Regions from separate parts of the Homo sapiens genome. Here region 1 is linked to region 2. Evidence: promoter capture Hi-C in human tissues and cell types (Jung and others, 2019). All regions are on one chromosome and are shown on one strand. The core of a region is centred on a gene start or on the middle of the fragment in contact, and the rest is flanking DNA. Distances in the headings are between cores, read along the strand shown. Region 1 overlaps UROS (uroporphyrinogen III synthase). Region 2 holds the start of DOCK1 (dedicator of cytokinesis 1).

Region 1 (4,661 bases), core at 40-2,539, 1.1 Mb before region 2:
CCTGTCTCTTACTTGCTAGAGGTCTTAGCTGAGTTGCCTAATTTGAGACCCCAATCTCTAAAACGGGAAAATAATACCTCCCTGGCCTGCTTTGCAGAAGTTGGGGGTGAGGGGTAGATTAAATGAGAGGATGAGTGAAAGGGTTCTAGGACTGCTGAGAGCAATGCAGGTTTGCTGCTCTCACCATGACCTGCTCTCCTGGGCCCCAATCTCTGAGTCTGGGTGGCTTTCTGGAGGGGCTGATAGAGGCTCAGTCAGAACCTCCCAACAGCAGCAGCCTCCTGGAGCCAGGTGAAGTTATGCTGCCATGTTTTAAAGTTTGGGAATAAAATAAGAAGACAGTAAAATAGTCCCTCTCTGGCTTCAGCTGGCAAGGGAGAAATCAAACACTAACATGGTGCTCAGTCACAACAGGCCTTACCTTCTCAGAGAAACTGGGAAGAGACAAAAACTCAAACGATAAAACAGGGATCAAAGTGGCTTCAAGTCCATATAATCCTAATTCCTGAAATGAAAGAATATAGTTCTGGATTGGCTAGGGCTGTTTTTAAAATAAGGGAACATTAACAATTTATTCTGCGTCAGTTCCTCTGAGGTTTTGCAAAACCCATCCCTGCCTGCTCCAGGCCCCTTGACTCAGTAGAAAGGACACTGTGGGATAAGGAGTCTCAGGCCACTTACCCTGATATACGGATCCTGGCCACAGTCATCTTCCTTCGCATCCTTCAGTAAAAGAACCTTCATTATTGCCTGGCAGTCCTTATAGGGCACTGCGACAGAGCAAGGAAACAGATCTTAATTAGATCTCAAAGACTCTTCCTAAGCAATTTCCGATGGGGACGGTACACAAGAAGAAGGCAATCAAATGCTTGTGGAAGAGACCTATCCCTCCTACACCATGACTTAGCACTAATGGGCTTGTTCTTTCTGAAGACCCCTGTCACTGATAAGGCCAAGAAAGAGCATGTTAGCAGTTGATATCACTTGGAAAGACAGATGAAACCATTAGTGAAAGCCAAGTGTCCTATGCCAAACGTTTATGGTTCCGGAAAGAGAACTGATGTAAATTTAGGGTTGTATCAACAACAAACAGAGAAATTGGTATCTTATGTTTTAAGGAGATAAATAGCTTTTCCATTTCAAGATAAATATGCTAAGTAGCTCATAAGCACTTTGGGAAATAATTATATTGACTCTTCTACTTATTAAATGATGTTTTCTAAACGTCAAGTATCATAAGAGAGTCTAACAACATGGAAAACGATTTGTTGACATCAAAAGCTTTATATACTTCATCTTCTTTCTTCCTGTAATTTCACTTCTAAGAATACTAAAGCAATACTGATAAATGTGTCCAAAGATTAACATAAAGATGCTCACACTAGAATTCTTTTGGGTCTCGTTGGGTCATATTAGGGAATGTGGCTCTTATCTTAATAGCAACGGGAAGCTTCTTGTTTATAGATGTATTTTTTTTTTTTTTTTTTTTTTTTTTAGAGGCAGGGTTTCACCATGTTGCCCAGGCTAGTCTCGAACTCCTGAGCTCAGGTGATCTACCTGCCTCGGCCTCCCAAAATGCTGGGATTACAGGAGTGAGCCACTGCACCCAGCCTTATAGATGTATTTCTCCTCTCTTTTCCTCATTTCTGCTTGCCCTTTTACCTTCTCCCTTCTCTAAGGTGATAATATAAGGAAGGAAGTATGGTGTCACAGAATAAGCACAGGACTAAGGGCCAACGGACCTGAGCTCTGGTCTCAGCTTTATGACTTAACCATGGTGTGATCTTGTTTTTTCCCATGTTAAATGGGAATAACCTCTGCCCTACCAAGCCTTAGGGTTGCTGAGTGACTCAAAGAAGATAAAAACAGCGAACAGATCTATTGAACTTACTGCCTCCCAGGCACTATTCTAAGAGCTTCACATGCATTAAGTCCACCTACGAGGCTTAGGAAGAAGCTGAGGTGTACAGAGGATGACACTCATCCAAAGTCTCAGAATTGCTACGTGGCAGAGCTGGGATTCACACCCAACCAGTCTGGCTCCAAAGTCTGTGCTTTTAACCCCCTACGCTATATTATGCCTCACATACACTTTGAATACGAAAATGTTTGGGAAAAATAGAGGTATAAAAATATAAAGTATCACTGTAGTACAAAGTGCTTAGTTTAGTTATGCAAACACCCCAAAGAAAAATCAATCTACCCATTGTAAACAGAGAAAATATTTCTCCTGGGTTCTAATCTGTGGTTCTCTTAGGTAATAAAACCGATGCTGGCATGAAGTTTAGGCTTCTGGATAATAAAGAGCTCCCTGAGATGTGTTGCAAATAAAAATCCAACTACTACCCTTATCCTTTATCTGACGTCACTGAAAGCATTTGTCTTCTTTTTTAATCCTGTATACAATCATTCCCAAACACTGAAAGCATTTCTAATATAAAATTAGGCCAGGACAGTGGTTCATGCCTGGTAATCTCAGCACTTTGGCAGGCTGAGGCAGGAGGATTGCTTGAGAGCAGGAGTCCAAGATCAGCCTGGACAACATAGCGAGACCCCATTTCTACAAAAATTTTAAAAGTTGTTAACAAGGAGCCGGGCATAGTGGCGCATCCCTGTAGTCCTAACTACGCAGGAGGCTGAGGTGGGAGAATCACTTGAGCCCAGGAGTTCAAGGTTGCTGTGGGCTATAATCGTGCCACTGCACTCCAGCCTGGGTGACAGAGAAGGATCTTGTCTAAATAATAATAATAATAATAATAATATAAAATTAAAAGGTTCTGTTGTTGATGATTCTTTGCTGTGCTAGAGTCACATATTATCAGGCTGATTGGGAAAGAAATCAATTGAGAAGCGTGCACAGATAGGTTAACATGTCGCCACCTTGGGCTTTAGGAAGAGGCTTGGTGGAGTAGAGGGTGTTTGCACAGGAGGGCCAGTGTCTGGGTTCTGGTCTAGGCTGCTCTTGCCTCAGTCTCAGTTTCAGATTCCTGTACATTGGAAAGGGGCTGTGAGCCTCTCCATTGTTGGCTTTTTTGATGGACTTTCTTTCCTGTAGTAGATGCTCATTATTTGCTCACCTTGTGGGAAAACAACAATTTCAATTTTACCCAGCATCTTTGAAACAGAAAGAATGATTAATTTTCCTTAAAGTAAAATGGAGCACTTGTCCTTCAAGTTGCCTGCTTAGGTCTCTCCCAAGCATACTCTACTTTCTTTCCTGTTCTAAAGTTTTTTGTTGTTGTTTTTTGAGATGCAGTCCTGCTCTGTCGCCCAGGCTGGAGTGCAGTGGTGCAATCTCAACTCACTGCAACCTCCGCCTCCCGGGTTCAAGCGATTCTCCTGCCTCAGCCTCCTGAGTAGCTGGGACTACAGGCATGCGCCACCATGCCCAGCTAATTTTTGTATTTTAGTAGAGATGGGGTTTCAGCATGTTGGCCAGGATGGTCTCCATCTCTTAACCTCGTGATCCGGCTGCCTTGGCTTCCCAAAGTGTTGAGATTACAGGTGTGAGCCACTGCACCCGGCCTAAAGTTTTTTAAAATAAACTTCCACTCCTGCTCTGAAGCTTGCCTCGGTCACTTTTTCTGCCTTATGCCCCCAGTTGAATTTTCTTCTGAGGAGACAAGATTGAGGTTGCTGCAGGTGTCTACTGATTTGCCACTGGTAACATATTTGGTGCCACGTGACTCAGATGGTAAGGGATCTCTATGCCTCGCTTTCTTCTGCTGGAGGCATCTGATCCCTGTGCAGTTTTTCTTCTCCTCCCTCTCTCCTGCTTACTAAACAACCCCCAGAACAATTCCTCTTGGCCATACGTGACTCTGCTCTCTGCCAGTTGATTTCTTAGCTCACTCTGGTGGGTGGCTCATGGGAGTGGGAAGGACCCTAGGGTCTGCATCAAGCAGATCAGAGGCACTATATGGCCCTCCTTGATAGGAGGCTTGAGACTGGTGAGGCTAGGGCCTAAAAACCGTGCAGTGTCTGGGGTTTCCTCTGCCTTTTTTTCCAATGAAAATAACGAAACCTGTTATTTCCCATTGAGGGGGAAAAAGGCGGGAGAAGCCCCAGCAGAAATGAAGCTGCTCCTGAAGCTTCCAACATGAAACTCACCTCGGCACTGGTAAAAAGAGGGCTCAACCTGTCTCTAGATTTACAGTCTAATGCTTGCTCTGCCATTTTACCCTCATACTTATGTTCATCAATCATTGATGAAAAAGAAAAGAAAAAAAAAATGACTGGAATAAGGGCACCTTACTGGTAAGAAAGAACCAAACCTCAAACCCGTACCTTCTATGTCATGGTGTTCTGGGTATCAGCAATAACAACAGTCACCCTTTTACTGAGCATTTACTCATGTTAATTACTGGGTGTATTAGAGTTCTTCAGAGAAACAGAACCAATGGCATATATTTACATCTAGAAAGGGATTTGTTATAAGGTATTAGCTCATGCAGTTATGGAGGCTGAGAAGTCCCATGATCTGCTGTCTGCAAGCTGGAGACTTGTTAGCAGGAAGGCTGGTGTTGTAGCCTGAAGGCCTGAGAGCCAAGGGTGTAGGTTCCAGCCTGAGTGTGAAGGCCTCAGCACCAGGAGCACCAAGGGCAGAAGATATCCCAGATCAAGCATGCAGGAGGAGACAGGACACATTCTTCCTTCTTTGG
Region 2 (4,651 bases), core at 733-3,232:
TGTCACCAAAATCTGTTTCCCAGGCTTCTTTGCAGAATTCCAAATTCCTAGCACGACCAATAAGGCCCTTCTTCTACCTCTGCAGCCTCAATTTATGTCACTTTCCTGTTGTTCCCTATGCTTCGGCCATCCTGGCCTTTCTGTGCTCTGAAGGAGTGGTGCTCCTTCCTAAACCAGGGCCTTTTCACGTGCTGTTCCCACTCCAGTTCACCTAGCTGGTTTCTGCTTATCCTTAAAGTCTGGGTTTATCTTATTTCCTCAAGGGAGGCCTCCCTGCTCTGGAGCAGGTCAGGCCACCATGTCCTTTACCGTAGAGCACCCTACTTGTCCTGGACAGCACCTTCACAGATGCTTCTCCTTCAAGGGGTCAGAGTCACCAGGCCACCACTACAGCGCCTGAGCCCCGGAGGTTTCTGATTTCCACAGAAAGCTTCAAGTGCATGCTGTGTGTGAGTGAGCCTGGCCACTTCCTCTGTGGGACTTCAGTTCCTTATCAGTAAAACAGAGCCCGTGGCTTTCCATGAATGTGGGGTTGACTTACCAGAATGCTCAGGTCCCACGTTATCCTCTTGAACGCAGCAGCTTTCCTCTAACCCACGAAAATGGAAAAGCTCCTGTGCCATTCCCAAATACTTATTTAATCTGCATTCTGGGTGGCCCCTAGGGCAGGTGACGGGCATTCTCTACCGCAGGATGGTGCCCCACCTGGTCCTCCCCAGGCCCTGTGGCCATCCTGGCCACCTCCCTGTGGGCTCTCCCAGCCCTGCTGTTCAGCACTGTCCCTACCTCACAGAGGTAGGGACCTCTTTTTCTTACCTTCTTCCTTTTCTTACCTTCGTTCCTCCAATCCCTGACGGCCCCCAGACCTACTGTAGTTGTCTCTGTGTCTTCGGAGAGAAGACACCCCATTAATGTGCCATGAAACCAAATTTATTCCATTTAAAGGGCTGCCTTCATTCGGAGGCTTTGTCCATGTCTTGGTTTTAACCTCTCTTTTCTGAAATTACAGTAAAAATAAATAGGTGTGTGTTGCTTTAACTTTTCCCTTGGAGAAATCTGAAGCCCCCACCTTTTACTGTCATGGGAAACACCAGGGCCTGAGAAGAACTCCCACCTCGGGCGAGGATGCCGTTCCTGAGCCCCACGCGTGGCCTGGGCTTTCCTTTCCCTACTTCTCTCTTCCCCCGACTTCAGCAGATCCTGAGTCCCACAACTATTCTAGCATTAGCTTCTGCAAGCCCAGCTGGGCTGAGGTTTCTGCGGCTGCTTCCTCTTGGTCTCTCTGGAAAACTCCACTCATTCAGCACCCAAGCAAGAGGTCACCTGTCTGGAACGCACTCCCTCGGCAGCGCTGTGCCACCTCTTTCCACCCCATTTGAGTGGCCGGCACTTACCTGTGCTGTTTGTTACCTGACGTGTCCCTTCTCCCACCTACCAGGCAGTTGGTGCGGCGCTCCCAGCACACTCGGGCAATGAGTGGGCAGGCGCTCAGGTAACGTTTGTCGAATGAATGAATGAGCCACGTGCTCAGGAGGACCCTTTCCAGAGCCTCTGCTGGTTTGTTCTGCTCCGGGACTCTCCACCAGGGAGAAATCCGAGCTGGGGACCTCGCACCACCAGGCTCCGGCCTAAGCCCGCGCCTTGCAAGCCGCCCGTTTCCTACCTCCCGTAGAAACCCCCCGTCCGTCCCGCCCCCCTAAGGGCGCACCCCTCTCACGGCGTGAGCGCCAGCCCCGGGAGCTCCAGGAACTCAGGAGAACCCCGCGGGGGTGCCCGGGTGCGGAGCGCGGGGCTGGGCGCACTGGGACAGAGGAAGGGGAGCCCCGGCGACCGCGGGGTCGGGGCCCAGGGTCCGCGCCGAGGGCGGGCGCAGAGCCCGCGGCCGTCCCGCCTCCCGCCGGCGCTCCCGGCCTTTCCCATCCGGCCCGCGACGCTCCGCCCGCCCCGTCCCACATGACGCCGCCTCCGCCGCAAACTTTTTCCTCCCCATCCTGTCGCGGCTCGAAAGGAATGGAAAATGGCGGCCTAGACGCGGAGTTTCCTGCCCGACCCGCGGCGGCTCCGGCGGCGCCATGACGCGCTGGGTGCCCACCAAGCGCGAGGAGAAGTACGGCGTGGGTGAGCAGCGCCGCCGCCGCCGCGCCTCTCGCCCCAAGCCCAGGCTCCGGCGGGGCGGGTGTGCCGGGCGCCTGTTGCCGCCGCCCCGAGCGGCCGCCGGGCCGGGGAGAGGCGCTTCCGCCCGCGCCCGCGCCGCCGCCCCGCTCGCAATGCCCGGCGACCCCGGCCGCCCCGCGCCCCCGGCGGCGTCAGCTCCAGCCCCGGGGATGCGGGTCGGGAACACGAGGGGGTGGGGTGGGAATGGGGGCGGGCGCGTCCCTCCCTAGGGTGTCCCCTCCGACGCCCGCTCCTCTGGACCTCTGCCGTGGAGCCCCCCGGGCTACCCCCAACTCCCCGGCCCCGGCCGCTGCTATCTGCGCGGCTGGGCCCGTCAGGGAAGCCCAGGGGTCACTGTCTCGCGGCGGCTTCTGCTTCTTGGATGAACTTGCGTCCCGCGTCCGGGCTCTGGGTGGGCGGGCTCAGGTCGGCGCGGTCCCAGCGGATAATTCCGCCCTTTCCCGGCGGGGAGGAGGGGGCGCGACCTGGGTGGCCAGCGCCCCTTGCCCCTCGGCGGTCTCGCTGGGGACCGTGTGGGACCTTGGAGAGAAGGCGAGCGGCCGAGCGCCCCAGTGGCCCCAGGCCTGGAGACCCTTCCGGGAGAGCGGGGGCCTGTTTTTGCTCCGCGGCTCTTTGTCGCTTCCGAGGGGGGATGGAAGGAGTCGGGTTGCAAGTTTACATTTCGGACCCGAGTGCGCATTCCTGAGAGGGAGGCTTTCCCTTGCGGCTGAATAGACGGGCCCGTCCGCGTGGGACCCGCATCCTTGCGCCCCGGGGACCCGCAGCCGGTCGCCGAGGCCTGCGGACGCCCACCTCTTCGTGATCTGCGCGCCTGGTGTCGGGACTGGGCCGTGGCTACTCTCCTGCTCTCCCGGGTCCGGGATCTTCCCAGTTGGTTTTCGGGCTTGCTATTCCCCGTCCCACCATCCACAGACATCCTTGACCGCCTGCCTCATCCAGGCCACTCGACCCGACTGGGAAGACCTTTGGTGGTCTCGCCTCCCACAGCCCAGGCTGTGTCCTCCAAGGGCACCGTCTCAGCAGCAGCCCCGCGCCCATTCTGTGCCTGGCCCGTGCTGGACCTGCCCGACCCTCTGCTGGTGTGGTTCGAATCCTGGCTCTCTGACTTTTGGGAAGCGCCCTGGCAGCCCTTGTCCCCGGAGCGCTCTCCTTTCTGTGAACAGTTGCTTCTCTCTGCTGTCAATGACTTACAGTATGCCCTGACCACGGAGCCAGCTGGACAGTGGTCACGGGGACAGTCCTGGGACAGCCCTGGGTCCTACCGGGCCTGCACTTAGCTTGTTCCACATGCTGGGAGGCATAGGGGGCCTCCTTGCTTCAGGACCATTATGACTGAGCTTCCTCCCCATCTCCCCATTTTGCAGATGAGGAAACTGAGGCCCAGACACATTCACAAAAGTGCAGGAGAGCTCATCTGACTGCAGACTCAGTGTGTAACCTGCACCCTGTGCACCACCTAATGGATTCAGTCTGGGGCACTTGGCACGGGCCTTCAGTCTGCATCAGAGGCGAGAGGTTCGGGGTGGATATTCCACCTGAGAATGCTTGGGTTGTGGCGACAGTGGGGGTCCCTGCGGGGGTAGTGTGTAGAGGAGAGAGCTGAGGACTGACTCCCAGGGAACCTAGCACCAGCACACGCAGAGAGAGAGGAAGAGGTGGATAGGCAGGAGAGGCAGGAGGCTGGCAGAGGAGCAGGCATCCCATAGCCCTGGCCCTGCTGAGGAAGCAACTTAGGTGCCCATGGCCAGGGTGCAGTAGTGGCCATTGGGGGTGTAGTGGGGGCCATCGGGGTGCAGTGGGGGCCATCACTGCTCCCATTCTACAGAGGCAAGGAAGAGGTGGATTGCTTGCCTGAGGTCACATCACCAGTAAGTGGTGCCTCCTGGGTGTGAAGTGTGGCCGCCCTGGGTTCAGCTGCCACAGTGTCCTGTGCTTGCCTGCAGATGGGGAGGGCTTCTCTTTGGGACGCCACATTTTAAGAGACCTTGTTACCCTTCGTCTGCCCCCAGAGAGACCTGGATGGTGTCAGTTAGGATCCTATAGTGTAGCTGGATGGTCTGGAGAAGACTGAAAAGAATGTTCGTAGATGGGAGAACGGGGTCTCCTTGCTGGGGAGGAGGCTGAGGGCCAGAACAGGGCGGTGCGCTTGAGTCTCACACCTTCCAGAAGCTTCACCAGCGCTCATGGTGGTGACTTCTAACATCACACCTCTTGCTAATACTTTGGTTTTAAGAAAACTCCATGTTTGATTATTAAGAAAAAATAAATTTAAAAAAGTTAAAAAAAGAAAAAATAGAAAACTGTTGGAAAATTTTAAAAGGCGAAAAGTATCTGGGATGGTTTTGCCAGGAAATGCTAGGAAAGATGTGAAGGGCTGAAGGTAGAGAAGAGAGTGGCTGCTGTGCTTCCTCTCACTGGGTGCAGATGACAGCTTGCTGGGTAGACAGTAATGAGACAGCACCACTCCATCGGCATC

What was found. The method cuts DNA at HindIII sites, captures the fragments that hold promoters and counts their contacts. A contact is called where the count stands out against the background at its distance.
Region 1: a contact is called between a fragment that was not itself captured here and the fragment with the promoter of DOCK1 in region 2, in 1 of the 25 tissues and cell types used here (IMR-90 fibroblasts).

What each region holds. Positions count from the first base shown.
Region 1 is chr10:125,815,756-125,820,416 of GRCh38, forward strand. UROS (uroporphyrinogen III synthase) reads right to left here. Exons shown (of 10, transcript NM_000375.3): 2 at 682-770; 3 at 422-505. The coding sequence starts at 744. It overlaps MIR4484 (microRNA 4484), which reads left to right and starts at 3,985; the gene lies at 3,985-4,067. RefSeq lists a cis regulatory region at 936-948. The HindIII fragment of the contact is 5,078 bases long and covers 1-3,828 here.
Region 2 is chr10:126,903,446-126,908,096 of GRCh38, forward strand. It overlaps DOCK1 (dedicator of cytokinesis 1), which reads left to right and starts at 1,983. Exons shown (of 52, transcript NM_001290223.2): 1 at 1,983-2,118. The coding sequence starts at 2,073. LOC105378550 (a long non-coding RNA gene) reads right to left here and starts at 1,933. Exons shown (of 2, transcript XR_946449.3): 1 at 1,115-1,933; 2 at 1-997. LOC124900289 (a long non-coding RNA gene) reads left to right here and starts at 2,286. Exons shown (of 2, transcript XR_007062336.1): 1 at 2,286-4,651. RefSeq lists an enhancer at 3,004-3,752. The HindIII fragment of the contact is 5,553 bases long and covers 1-4,651 here.